2 separate regions of the Homo sapiens genome follow, and region 2 is linked to region 1. The links are contacts of gene promoters, found by promoter capture Hi-C in human tissues and cell types (Jung and others, 2019). All regions are on one chromosome and are shown on one strand. Each heading gives the region's core, a stretch centred on a gene start or on the middle of the fragment in contact. The rest is flanking DNA. Distances are from core to core; before and after follow the strand shown.

Region 1 (6,897 bases), core at 1,673-4,172:
TAAAATTAAAATAAAAAAATGAAATTAAAAAACTAAAAATTCTTAAAAGCAGCTGCTTTGAACAAACACAGTTGATTAAACTAAAAACCCTGCTATAACACCTTCTATTGTCCAGGAAACCTTGATGTCAGGGCAGGTTTCCCCACAGGTCTTATAAACACAAGTTTTTAAATCAGCCATTTCTGACTTGAGATTAAGTCTTTCATACATATGCTATTTGTTTTCTTATCCCGTTTTGGTTTCGCAAGTCTTGGCAACTGTCAGGTCTTTTCACAAAGTTCTCTAGTGTTTGAGGGCATTTTTTTGGGGGGCCTGGCCTTGTGTGCAGATGGAAAACAACTCTTTTTTTTTTTTTTTTTTTGAGATAGAGTTTCACTTTTGTCTCCCAGGCTATGGCTCACTTCAACCTCCACCTCCCAGGTTCAAGCGATTCTCCTGCCTCAGCCTCCTGAGTAGCTGGGATTACAGGCGGCTGCCACCACGCCCGGCTAATTTTTTTTTTTTTTTTTTTGAGACGGAGTCTCGCTCTGTTGCCCAGGCTGGAGTGCAGTGGCGCGATCCAAGCTCACTGCAACCTCCGCCTCCCAGGTTCAAGCAATTCTCTGCCTCAGCCTCTCAAGTAGCTGGGATTACAGGTGCCTGCTACGATGCCCAGCTAATTGTTTTGTATTTTTAGTAGAGACGGGTTTCATCATGTTGGCCAGACTAGTCTTGAACTCCTGACCTTGTGATCCACCCGCCTCGGCCTCCCAAAGTGCTGGGATTACAGGTGACAGCTACTGCGCCTGGCCACCCAGCTAATTTTTGTAATTTTAGTAGAGACAGGGTTTTGCCATGTTGGCCAGGCTGGTCTCGAACTCCTGACCTCAGGTGATCCACCCGCCTCGGCCTCCCAAAGTGCTGGGATTACAGACGTGAGCCACTGCGCCTGGCAGGAACACCTTTATACTTTCCTCCATGGGTCTGCAGGAAAAGGGAGCCATTGAAAATTGTGGGTTAAATAATAGAAAATAGTTTTATATCAAAACCCCCTTTACTTATTTATTTATTTTTTATTATTATTATTTTTGAAACAGAGTCTTGCTCTGTTGCCCAGGCTGGAGTGCAACGGGAAGATCTTGGCTCACTGCAACCTACACCTCCCACATTTGAGTGATTCTCGTGCCCCCGCCTCCTGAGTAGCTGGGATTACAGGCATGCACCACCAGGCCTGGCTAATTTTTGTATTTTAGTAGAGATGGGGTTTCACCATGTTGGCCAGGTTGGCCTTGAACTCCTGGCCTCAAGTGAGTGCTCTGGCCTCCCAAAGTGCTGGGATTACAGGCATGAGCCACTGCACCCAGCCCCAAACCCCCTTTAACAAGCAGTGGTTGGCAAGTTATCAAGACCATGGACTTTGGAACCAAGTTACATCTCTTGGGTTTGAATACAGGCTTCATCATTTCCTAGCTGTAAGACCTTGGGCAGCTGGGTACGGCTGTGTAATCCCAGCACTTTGGGAGGCTGAGGTGTGGGAATCACCTGAGGTCAGGAGTTCAAGACCAGCCTGGCCAACATGGTGAAATCCTGTCTCTACTAAAAATACAAAAATTAGCCAGGTGTGGTGGCAGGCGCCTGTAGTCCCAGCTACTTGGGAGTCTGAGGCATGAGAATCACTTGAACCTGGGAGGCAGAGGTTGCAGTGAGCTGAGATCACGCCACTGCACTCCAGCTTGGGAAACAGAGCAAGACTCCGTCTCAAAAAAAAAAAAGAAGACCTGCGGCAAATTACTTTTTCCTACATCCTAAGGTAATTGTGATAATTAAGTGAAGTAATATGTGTAGAGCCCTTAGAACTTTACAATATTTGTAAAACCCTTAGAAGTTATAAAAATTATTTAATATTTAAATAATTTAATGAATGTACTTAATTCATTTAGTATTATGTATAAATATAAAATTATTTTATATTTGTAAAGCCCTTAGAACCGTGCCTGGCACACAGTAAAGCTCTGTTTGCAAATAATATTTTGGCTCACCAGTAGACCACTAGTTCATACTGCTTGATGATAAGCTATTCCGCCTCATTCGTCCTTGACCCCCTAAACAGGTCTATGCCTTGGTTGCTGGGAAGGTGTGTTGGCTTTATTAACAGTAATAGTGATATGTCCTTTTACCAGGCAATTGCATGGACCAGTATTTATAGGGAAGTTTGAGCCCTGCCGCAGAGGGGTTAAGTGATGGGAAAATGCCTGCCATTTTCACATGCTGTTACAACCAGGCAGTAAAAGTCCTCAGAAGTTAAATTTTAAGTAATCAGACTGGCCACTTTCCTTCCTCTGGGAATGCAGTTGGGATGGAGGGCTCTGTCTCTAGTTGGAAAGAAGTCTGAAGTCCCCTCCTGTGTGGACACCAGACAACAGGTATCCCAGGGCCCTCTAGTTGACCAGCAATACTGTGGAATGAAGACACCCTCAAGTCACATTTGAAATCATTCCGGGTTCTTCCAGTTCAGCACCTTGACTGTTTTCCTCTTCACTGGGAAGGTGCTGGCAGCCTGACGGCCTTTTAGGCTTCTTTTAAGTTTGGGGCATCTGAAACCCGGCCAAGGTGCGGCGGGTAGTGTACTCATTCGAAGGAGAATACCCCCAATTCACTAGACGAGCCCCTAATTGGGGGTGCGGTGCCGGGCGCGCTCTTTCCTCCCCCTTTCCACCAGCACTGCCCTCAGTTCTGCTTCTAGCCACGCCCTTTCGCGTTCACGTCCAGCGCCCTGGCGGGATTGATTTGAGGACGACTGGACTGCCATTGCGCCTGCGCAGGGAGCCCAAGGCAAGAGCCGCTAGGCTGCCCTGCCCGAAGGGCTCAACTGTCAGTGAGCCTGCGCAGGAGGCCAATAGGCTGCCAATACTCCTTGGACTCCCCGCCAGGGCCCTGCTGTCAGTGCGCCTGCGCGCGGGTCCGGCGCCGAGGTTCTTGACTGCTGTGCCGGACGCCAGGTGTAGCCATGCAGCGAGCCGATTCCGAGCAGCCCTCCAAGCGTCCCCGTTGCGATGACAGCCCGAGAACCCCCTCAAACACCCCTTCCGCAGAGGCAGACTGGTCCCCGGGCCTGGAACTCCATCCCGACTACAAGACATGGGGTCCGGAGCAGGTGTGCTCCTTCCTCAGGCGCGGTGGCTTTGAAGAGCCGGTGCTGCTGAAGAACATCCGAGGTAGCGGCTCCGGAGGGGCTGAGGGGCGAAGGGCGGCGACCTGGGGCGCGGGCCAGGCGCCCTGAGGGAGGGGGCCCCACGAGAGGACCGAGGCCGAGGAGCGAGCCCTGCGGCGGGAGGCACCCGGGAGGGCGGACCTGCGCTGGGGGCGCCGAGGAAAGGAAGACCCGAGGCGGGGGAGGGAGCCCTGCGGCGGGGGTTCCCAGGAGGGCCTGCGGCATGGGGCTCCCGGGACTGACTCCCCGAGGCGGAGGAAGAAGACATGGGGTCGCCTGGGATAGGCGATTCGTAGGATGGGAGCAGGCTCCCGGGATTGAGGACCTGGGAGGGGCAGTCGTAGATTGGGATCTCACTCTCGTGGGTTTCTTCACTAACTTGCCACCCCGGCGCGGGACAAGCGAGACTCGGGTCCCTTTTTTTTAGTTAGAAGGAGATTTTTCCCCAGACCTTGGTGGGCGGCTTGCTGTCATCCAGGCTCGCGGGACCCCTCCGCGCTAACCGCAGCTCCTTGAACACTTGCCACATCAGAGGATGTTCTGGGGCTTTTAGGTTTCGGTTTCCTCCCTGAATTGAGGCTTTTCCTGAAGGGGAAGGAACTGGCTTGGTTAATCTCTGAATTCCCATCACCTTCCTTGGCATCCCAGCAGCGCCCGATAGGCGTGTGTTGACTGCACTTGCAGAACATGGTAAGGAACATGTTTTGCTCTTTAAAAGCAGGTTCCCCTCCAAAATCTGAACCTTGGGGTTGTTCAGTTGACCACTGAATCCCCAGCATGCCACAGTTTGGCCACATCCCCTGGAGAAGTGTTTAGGTTGAGTTTTAATCATATTTTACTGATTCGTATCCAAGCATCCATCCTTGTGAATTCTACTCAACTTTTTGTGGTGGGTGTGAGATTTGACTCCTGCCTTATATCCTCTAGGTGTCCAATAGGAAGGTGATTCTTTGGTGGTTGGGATTTGCAAATTTAGTAAATTTTTGCATTTGTTAGGTGGGGCCCTGTTTGGCTAGGTTGGAAACTGGGGTAGGAGGAACATTAGTGGTTCAGGACCCAAAGATAGCTTGAATGGGTATGGGAAATTGCATTTCTCCTTTTTTTTTTTTCTTCCCCCTTTTGCCCTTTCGTTTCCCTCCACTGCTGGGATGGATTATTACTTTATTTTCTTTGACTAGCAACAAGTGGAGTGAAGTAGTTCCATATTTTCTGTCTCAAAATGTGGTTGGCTCTCTGTTTCAGTGGTTTGTAGATTAACTCGTTACCCTCCAGAATGATGTGTGTTCCTTAAACCTACAACCTATTGCTATCAAAGACACTATGTGCTTTCATTTGGTAAAAACTGACCAACTGTTCCCAATTGCTCATGTCTTAGCTTCTGCTTTGTCTTGACCAAACTTTATTCGGACTTCTCTCTTCCCTTATGGGCCCCTCAACTCTTGCTTACCCCCAGATCTGACCAGGCAGGCACTAAAGCAGTGGAATATGCCTCCCTCTGGTCAGTTTCTTTTGAGAACCGGCTGACCACAGTAGGATGCTGTCCTGTTGGGCTACACTGCTCATTTTCCCTTGCTCGTCCAGGTTCCTATCCAAAGATTCTGCTTATTTCTGCTTGCCCGTCCTTTATCATATAAAAGAAGACCCTTTTTCTGTTGGATTCTTTTTTTTTTTTTTTTTTTTTTTTGAGACAGAGTCTCGCTCTGTCGCCAGGCTGGAGTGCAGTGGCGCCATCTCGGCCCAGTGCAACCTCTAACTGCCTGGTTCAAGCTATTCTCCTGCCTCAGCCTCCCGAGTAGCTGGGATTACAGGCATGTGCCACCACGCCCAGCTAATTTTTTTGTATTTTTAGTAGAGATGGGGTTTCACCATGTTGGCCAGGATGGTCTCCATCTCCTGAACTCGTGATCCGCCTGCCTCAGCCTCCCAAAGTGCTGGGATTACAGGCGTGAGCCACCGCGCCCGGCCTCATTTTTTTTTTTTTTTTAATTAGAGACAGGGTTTTGCCATGTTGGCCAGGCTGGTCTCAAACTCTTGGCTTCGAGTGACCATCCACCCACCTCGGCCTCCTAAAGTGCTGGGATTACAAGTGTGAGCCACCATGCCCAACCTCTGTTTGGTTCTTGGGCCTCTGTTTGATTATTTTTTAAAATTTATTTTATTATTTTATTTTTTTTCTGAGATGGAGTCTCGCTCTGTCACGCAGGCTGAAGTGCACCGGCACAATCTCAGCTCACTGCAACCTCTGCCTCTCGGGTTCAAGTGGTTCTCCTGCCTCAGCCTCCCTAGTTGCTGGGATTACAGGTGCACGCCACCACGCCTGGCTAATTTTGTGTTTTTAGTAAAGACAGGGTTTCACCATGTTGGCCAGGCTGGTCTCCAACTCCTGTCCTCAGGTGATGCATCCGCCTCTGCCTCCCAAAGTGCTGGGATTACAGGCGTGAGCCACCGCGCCCGGCCGGCCTATGTGTTTGATTCCTGAGCCTCTTGCAGATATCTGATATTGGAGCTTTCTCCCTGTAGAAATAGTCTTTCTTCTTTTCTTTTCTTTTTTTCTTTTCTTTTTTTTTTTTTTTTGAGACAGAGTCTCGCTCTGTCGCCAGGCTGAAATGCAGTGGTGTGATCTCGGCTCACTGTAACCTCTGCCTCCCGGGTTCAAGCAATTCTCCTGCCTCAGCCTCCTGAGTAGCTGTGACTACAGGTGCCCACCACCACACCTGGCTAATTTTTGTATTTTTAGTAGAGATGGGGTTTCACCATGTTGGCCAGGATGGTCTTAATCTCTTGACCTGATGATTCACACGCCTTGGCCTCCCAAAGTGCTGGGATTACAGGTGTGAGCCACCACGCCCGACCAGCAATAGTCTTTCTTTCTAATAAAGTTTCTCTTGGCCGGGCACGGTGGCTCACGCCTGTAATCCCAGCACTTTGGAAGGCCGAAGCAGGTAGATCACCTGAGGTCAGGAATTCAAGCCCAGCCTGGCCAACATGGTGAAACACCGTCTCTACTAAAAATACAAAAATTAGCCGGGCATGGTGGTATGTGCCTGTAGTCCCAGCTACTTGGGAAGCTGAGGCAGGAGAATCACTTGAACCTGGGAGGCGGAGGTTGCAGTGAGCCAAGATCCCGCCACTGCACTCCAGCCTGGGCGACCGAGTGAGACTCCATCTCGGAAAAGAAAAAAAAAGTCTCTCTTTATCTAAGTCCATTTTTTTTTTAATTTGATAAGCCAAGCACAAGGTACAGTGTCCCTTTTCTCATTATGGAATACAGCCTCACAAGAAGTCTGAAATAAGTTACTACACTCAACACATTTTACCGATGATGTATGCGAGGTCCAAAGATGTAAAGTAACTTTTCAGAGATCACACCACTACAAAAAAGAGCTAGATTTTTTAAGGTTAGGTCTTTGGACTCTAGAACTCATGTGATCTATACCTTAACAAGTATTCTCATCAAAAACCACTGGAGGCCTGGCCCAGTGGCTCATACCTATAATCCCAGCACTTTGGGAGGCCAGTGTGGGAAGATCACTTGAGCCCAAGAATTCAAGACCAGCCTGGGCAACATCAGGAGACCTCAACTTTACAAAAAATAAAAATAAAAATTAGCTAGGTGCAGTGGCACATGCCTGTGGTCCCAGCTACTCAGGAGGCTGAGGCAGGAGGATCGCTTGAGCCCAGGAGGTCAAGGCTGCAGTGAGATGTGA
Region 2 (6,930 bases), core at 3,384-5,883, 570 kb before region 1:
TGCTGTCCCGACTTTGTCCAGATCAGAATGCGGTGCCTATGCCCAGATCTCAGGGGTCTGCTCCCCCTATCCCCCCTCCTCTCTCGACCCTGCCCCTTAGTGGGACCGGTGCAAAGGGGTTGGGAAGGGATCTGGTATCTTCGTCATTGTCGGTACTGCTTCTCCGGGGGTCTACTGGCCCCTCACTGACCTTGCCAAGTGCTCCTCTGGCGAGGGAACACAGGGGACCCCACATTCCTGCGCGGCACTGGCTCCCGTGCTGGCCGAGATGCACAGGAGCACCTGATGATACGGCCGCCCAGGGCTGGGAGCTGGGGCCTCAGTTGGGGGCTCGCTGCCTGCGCTCCCCCAACACCTGCCGCCCGGTCCGCGACACCGTGTATGCCAGCTTCTGCAGGGAGTACCTGAACACCTGCGACGAGAAACCCAGGACCCACCCTTAGTGGAGAGCACCCACAGCATGTCTGTGGTGCTGCCGTGCCCACCCCCGCCCCACCCCCTGCCCCGCCCGCCCATCCAGCGTAGGCTGGAGAGGCGGGCGCGGGCGCAGCTTGTCCACGAGTCAGGGCAGCTGGAGCTTTTCCAACTGTGCTGAGAGCTGCATGGCGGCAAGCTGATTGGACCCACAACTTAGGTATACCTCACTTCTCGCAATGGGCTGTGTCCCTGGAGGATTTCGAAAAGCGAATCCTACCCAGTAAATGCAGCATTCCAGGAACACCTTGAAGGAAATATGCGATTCCTTTGGCAAAGGATTCCTTTAGCAGGGAATTCTTCCTGCAAAGGGAGCTTTTAGGGTAAATGATTTTATGGGCAAAGCGCTTTCTTCTGATTTATCTCTTTTTACACCAAGCGCTTTTGCCTCTTTTTTATTTTTTTTATTATTATTTTTTTTTTTGTAAAGCAATTGTCCTTTTTTGGAAGTGCTTTTTTTCCCCTTCTATTTTTCTCTCGAGGGGCTTTTTCCTCTAATTTTTTTCTTTAAAGCGTTTTTGCCCGATCCATTTTTTTCCGTTAGCTCCCTTGTCTAATTTTTTTCTGCAGTGCGTTTTTAATCTAATGCATTTTTTTCTGCCAAGTGCTTTTCTCCGATTTATTTTTCCTGCAATGCGCGTTTTTCTGTTTTCCTGTGAACTACTTTTTCTCTAATTCGTTGTAGGGTTTTTTTTTTTTGCGAAGTAATTTTTATTTTTTCTGAGAAGTGCCTTTTTCTAACTTATTTTTTGTTCCACCCCCGCAAGCGCTATATGTTTTTTTAAATAAAATTTCTCCGCAATGCGCAATTTTTTAAGGTGGAAAATTTTCACTCTGCGAGCTGTAAAGTCTTTCAACACAGTAGTGCCCCGCCTCCCTCCTGGGGTCGAGTCCGGGTGTAGCGGGTTTTTCTTACCGCGTAGGTCGCTAAATGCCTGGGTGATCGTCCGCAGCGGTCGCCCGCCGCGCCCCGAGTCTTTGTTCCCTGGCAGGCGCGGGCGCACTAGGGAGGGTCAGCGCGAGGAGGACGGCGCAGGGAATGGGCAGGGGGCGCGCGGTGCCGGCAGCGGCACTTGGGCAGGCAAGGATCGCGGCAATCGGAATAGGACGGGTCCGGGAAGCGGCAATCGCGACGCAGTCTTGCGGGTTCTAGGGGCGCGAGTTGGGAACCCTCTCCCACCCGAAACCCCGTCAGACTTACCTGCAGCAGCACGCGGAAGATGTACCAGCCGATGATGAGCAGTTCAGCCGAGGCCGCCGCCACTGCCGCCATGGTTCCAAGAATGGTAGGTGGGTGGTCGAGAAAGAGGGTTTGCCGAGATCCGCTGGTCTCGGAGTCCGCTGTTGGGCGCACTGCCGCAGCCGCGGTGGCCGCGCCTTAAGTACCCGCCCGCCACCTAAGTGCGCATGCGCGCCTTGGGGGGTGTTTATGAGGAGGGGTGGCTGGGGGCGCTCCTCATTCGCCAGGAGAGGAAAAAAATAATCCATCTGCTCTTTCCATACCGACCCCCGCCTCCTGAGTTCCATCTTAGCCCCCTTCCAGAAGATTCCGCCGTGCTTGCTTTTGGATTTTGCTTTAAAATGGAGGGGTACCACGACTCTGGGTAGAGTACAGGGCGAGAATGGGGGTGCAGGTCTCTTAGTGTGGCGCCCTTCTCCCCAGTCCCTGGCCTGCAAATTTGAGCTCAGTCTCCGGTGCCACTCCAAAGCCTACCTTGGGGATGGATGGAAAACCGAAATTAGGGAGGGGTCATCTGCCCCATAGAGCAAAAAACGTGGTGCCCCTTTCAGAAGCTTTGGCATAATAGGCCCGTGCTCGGCGCTCTTTTCCTGATACTGAATGAGTTTTAAGCCCAGGTCCTCTGCTTCATGAGGGTGCCTGAGCGCGTAACCCGTCTGATTCTTTACATCTCTCTTACGGTAGCGAGGAGATGAGAATCTGCGGTGGAGGTCGCTACTGTAGGGAGCTGAGCCAGAGCACTGCGCTTTGGGCGCAAAAGCAGTAGTCACCCGGTATCTGTAGGAGGGATACAGGAAGGATTGGCGCCCTTCGTATGCACGGAAGGAATGAGCTCTACGGAGAAGTGGTTGGAATATGCTTGGGGATAGTTTTCTGCTGGACAGGTCGTTTCGACCTCAGTCTTCCGCTCCCCTCCCCCAAGCCCTGGTAGGTCGGCCTTAGCCAGTGGGGTTCTTTGTACCCGTTGCGCTGTGCGGCTGGATCACCGAACGGGGTTACGCTACCGCTACCGGAGGGTTGTGGCTACCGCAGCCCCGTTTCCAAGTGAGGCGGGTCCCTTTTAGACCGCCAGTCTTGTGGGTCCCTCGCACAGCGCGGATTTTCGGGCGGGAAGACCGGAATGCGGTTTGTGAGTGTGGTCCCCGCGCACCGGTAGCCAGCCGAAAGCACCTCTTTCCAGCAAGCTGCCTGGCCCAGGGACCAACTGGCATTTGCCCCTATGTGGATAGAAAATTAATTTTCATTAAAAGCTCCCAGAGGTCAGGTTCTATACAGTGCCAGCAGCAGATGGAGGTGTAATGATCCAAACGAGTTCAGTTTGGACAAAGTAGCATAGTGACTTTTTTTCTACATTGACTTTCGGAGAAGTTGGCAGATTCTGGCAAAGTGACGCTGGGCTGTTTGAAAAAGGCAAGCTTAGCCTAGGCTGCCATCTTAAAATATTTCGAGGCTGTAGCTGCCTCAGGATCCTTTGCCTGTGGTCTGGTGGCCGGCAGTGCCCCGCTAACAGCTTTAACTCTGCACTTAGTGCCTGAGCACCTATGGCTGTGAGAGATGCTAGATACAGAACCCTGTCCTTACCACGTGGGGGCACAGCAGGGAGCCCTTGGTCGTCCTTTGGCAACCACTGGGCGGTATTGTGAGGTCTGGGCCCCTTGAGGACGGGCTGCAGCCCCAGGAGGCGATACATGATCTCTGCTGGGCAGGGCCCAGGCAAAGCCAGCCCACTGTGTGAAACCGTGCCAAAGAGCCCTCTCCCCGATCCCCCAGGAGAAGCCCCGGGGAGACATCCCAGGAAGCTTCCCGAATTAGTGACTTGGAGAGGAGTAGAACTTTCACGGGTGGGCAGGGAGGAAAGGGCATTTCACATTTGCTGTTGTTAACCATGATCCATTTTCCCAAATAAGTATACATTCTGTTCCTGTTTTTTTTTTTTTTTTCTTTTTTTTTTTTTTTTTTTGTCTGTCTGTCTGTTCTTTGTCTGTTTGTCTGTTGTGTTGACTTTTCTCTTCAGGATCCCTGCTGCCTTGGTGATCCCGGGCTGACAGCCAGAGAGCACAGCGGCTCAGCTCCTGGAGAGTGAGGGTTGAAGAAAGCGGAGGGCAGCCGCCTGCGCCCGCTGGCTCCCATTAGGTCGGTTCCTGCAGCGGTGCCCGGCAGCCTTGGTGAAGGCCCTGCCCGGCAGAGATCATGTATTGCCTCCAGTGGCTGCTGCCCGTCCTCCTCATCCCCAAGCCCCTCAACCCCGCCCTGTGGTTCAGCCACTCCATGTTCATGGGCTTCTACCTGCTCAGCTTCCTCCTGGAACGGAAGCCTTGCACAATTTGTGCCTTGGTTTTCCTGGCAGCCCTGTTCCTTATCTGCTATAGCTGCTGGGGAAACTGTTTCCTGTACCACTGCTCCGATTCCCCGCTTCCAGAATCGGCGCATGATCCCGGCGTTGTGGGCACCTAACGGCCTGCCCTGTTAGCTTTCCAAGGAAGCAGAAGACGGGAGGGGAGGCATTGACATAGGTCATAAAGCATTGGAGTTTCAAATCCCGCAGCCTCGCGGGTGTCACATTCCTGACGGCGCCTTTTTGGCCTGTGATGTTTTATCCTTACAATGTGAATAATGGCACTGACCGGTGCTTTTATTGTAAAGTCCTATAGTCGTGGGTGGTCTTGTGGTTGTGTGTGTTCTGTCCCCATCTAGGTCCTGGCTGGCCGCATGACCACCCCTCTCGCCTCATTACTGTGAGGAGTCTGGGTCCATCCTGGTCAGCTGCCCCAATGTGACCTGGGGCAGATAAAATGCCAGTCTCATTGTCACCTCTGTGACCCCTCCTTGTCAGGGTCTCCTTCCTTCCCAGAATGTTACTGACTCCTCAGTCCCTCTTCTGGTTTCCCTTTATTTCTCTTCTACCCTTTTCCTTTTTTGGGGAGTACCTGTCCAAGACAGGGCTCATTTTTGCACTTATCTCGAATTTGAAGAGATTGCTGACGCCCGAGAGCCTCGCTTTTTCATCCTTCTTTCCTTGTTCAGCAGGCTAGACAGAAACATGTCTTGACTGTTAGTTGTCCACAAATCTTCAGTATTTTCTCCACTTCATTTTTAAGAAAGGAAGCAACAGATAGATGTTGCTCTTTCACCTGGGTGTCTGGGCTCAAGCTTTCCCGCCCAGCCTCACTTCCTTTGCCCTTCCTCCTGCCTTTCTCAACTGTCCCAAGGAGGGGGCCTCATTGTGTCTCCCGTGCATGCTCTGCAGCATTGAAGTATGGTGTGTTCACGTAGTTCTAGCAGTCCCCAGCTGAGTGAGTGGGAGAGTACCTGTGTGTTTCGTAACGGCCTTGATCCCCTTGATAGATGTTTGGATATTTTTTGGTGTGCCCTGTGTGTGTGTGTGTACAAATACATGTGTATATTCCTTTTAAAGAAGCTTTATCGAACGTGGTCTGATTTTGAGGTTTAGCAATAGCTAGCTATATATGGTAGGTGCCGCTACAGTTTTTATTTAGCATGGGGATTGCAGAGTGACCAGCACACTGGACTCCGAGGTGGTTCAGACAAGACAGAGGGGAGCAGTGGCCATCATCCTCCCGCCAGGAGCTTCTTCGTTCCTGCGCATATAGACTGTACATTATGAAGAATACCCAGGAAGACTTTGTGACTGTCACTTGCTGCTTTTTCTGCGCTTCAGTAACAAGTGTTGGCAAACGAGACTTTCTCCTGGCCCCTGCCTGCTGGAGATCAGCATGCCTGTCCTTTCAGTCTGATCCATCCATCTCTCTCTTGCCTGAGGGGAAAGAGAGATGGGCCAGGCAGAGAACAGAACTGGAGGCAGTCCATCTAGGGAATGGGACTGTGAGGCCATACTTGTGAAACGTCTGGACTGCTATTCTAGAGCTTTTATTTGGTGTGTTCGTTGCACAGCTGTTTGAAATGTTTAATAAAGCTTTATAAACTTTACTTTGTGGTTTTATGTGGCTGCAGTCCATTTGGGTCGTGGTGTTGGATTTCGGAGTTGGTGGGGGGCAGGGGGAAGCATGGAGGGGCTGAGTCTTTGGCGCCAGAGTACCTTAGCCTGAAAATTTGATCTGCTTTCTGGAGAGCAGATGGTGGGGATGGGGGAGGGGGAGCAGGGGGCAGGACAGGCGGTGAACAGGAGGGAGTCTGAAAGTTTTCAGAGATGAGACATTTGCGTTTCTCAGCTCCCATGGCTTCTTGCCTGAAATTGTTTCCCTCCATAGGAGATTTGAGTAACCGATCCCTTGACAAACAACTTAAGACAGCTGGAGCTCTAATCATCAAGGATTTTTATGGTGCTGCTTTTGAAGTAAAAATAGTGAAACCCCTTATGGCATTTCAAGTGGAAAAATAAATAAGACTGGCTGTCCAACCAGCCGGATGTAAGGTGATGGCTGGAAGTGCCGAGAGTGGTGTGGTTCCATGTTGTAGGTATGCACGTGCTCCCATGGCCATGACCTTTGAGACAGTGTAGGCTAGTTTGTCAGGTCCTGTGCTGAGTATTCACCTCTGAATCTCCTTCTTCTAGAAAGCATGGTAGGAATACTGCCTGTCCAAGGCACAGGGCTGTCGTGAGGTTTTATTGAGTCACAGTCGTGAAGGGCTTTGGTAATTTCATAGAAGATCACCTGTTCTACCTAGGCTTTAAATTTGTTGCTATAAAATTGAGTATGGTTTTCTCCTGTTCACTTAAGTCTCCCCATTGTCACTTTATTCCTTTTTTCATTCAAAACTTGCCAAAGATTTGTCTATTTTAGAGGTATTTTCAAAGAACCAAACTTTTATCGATCATATCTGCTGGGTAATTTTCTTACCTGATTCTTTTATGCTTTTATCTCTGAATTCTTCTTTTCTGTGTTTCTGGATAGATTTCGTGGTTCTGCAAAGTCTTGACAAGCTGAGGAGTCATACCTGGAAAGGATGGTTTGTTCAACAAACATTGAGACCCTGTACTAGGCTTGCTGGGGATTTCAGGGGCAAGACTCAGACCTGACTCTTCAGGAGCTCATGATTGTAGCCTAGTGGGAAGACTTAACAAAATAGACAATTGCAAATTCCAAAAACAAAACAAACAAAAAAAAGGCTTTTGTGTCCCTACTCTCCTGTGGCGACACCTGGATGATAAATGAAGCCAAGATTATTGCTTATTTTGCTCTCCCTCGGAAAGCAGCTTTCTGTTTTAGGTCAAGCCCGCTTAAGAGTCACAAACA

The links. The method cuts DNA at HindIII sites, captures the fragments that hold promoters and counts their contacts. A contact is called where the count stands out against the background at its distance.
Region 2: a fragment that was not itself captured here is called in contact with the fragment with the promoter of SAMHD1 in region 1 in 2 of the 25 tissues and cell types used here (dorsolateral prefrontal cortex and spleen).

What each region holds. Positions count from the first base shown.
Region 1 is chr20:36,947,733-36,954,629 of GRCh38, reverse strand. It overlaps SAMHD1 (SAM and HD domain containing deoxynucleoside triphosphate triphosphohydrolase 1), which reads left to right and starts at 2,922. Exons shown (of 16, transcript NM_015474.4): 1 at 2,922-3,194. The coding sequence starts at 2,987. RefSeq lists a silencer at 3,208-3,427. The HindIII fragment of the contact is 37,170 bases long and covers 1-6,897 here.
Region 2 is chr20:37,516,149-37,523,078 of GRCh38, reverse strand. BLCAP (BLCAP apoptosis inducing factor) reads left to right here. Exons shown (of 2, transcript NM_006698.4): 2 at 3,729-5,662. The coding sequence starts at 3,905. The coding sequence ends at 4,168. It overlaps NNAT (neuronatin), which reads right to left and starts at 1,829. Exons shown (of 3, transcript NM_005386.4): 1 at 1,676-1,829; 2 at 641-721; 3 at 1-412. The coding sequence starts at 1,747. The coding sequence ends at 320. RefSeq lists enhancers at 2,757-3,620, 3,621-4,484. The HindIII fragment of the contact is 3,867 bases long and covers 2,700-6,566 here.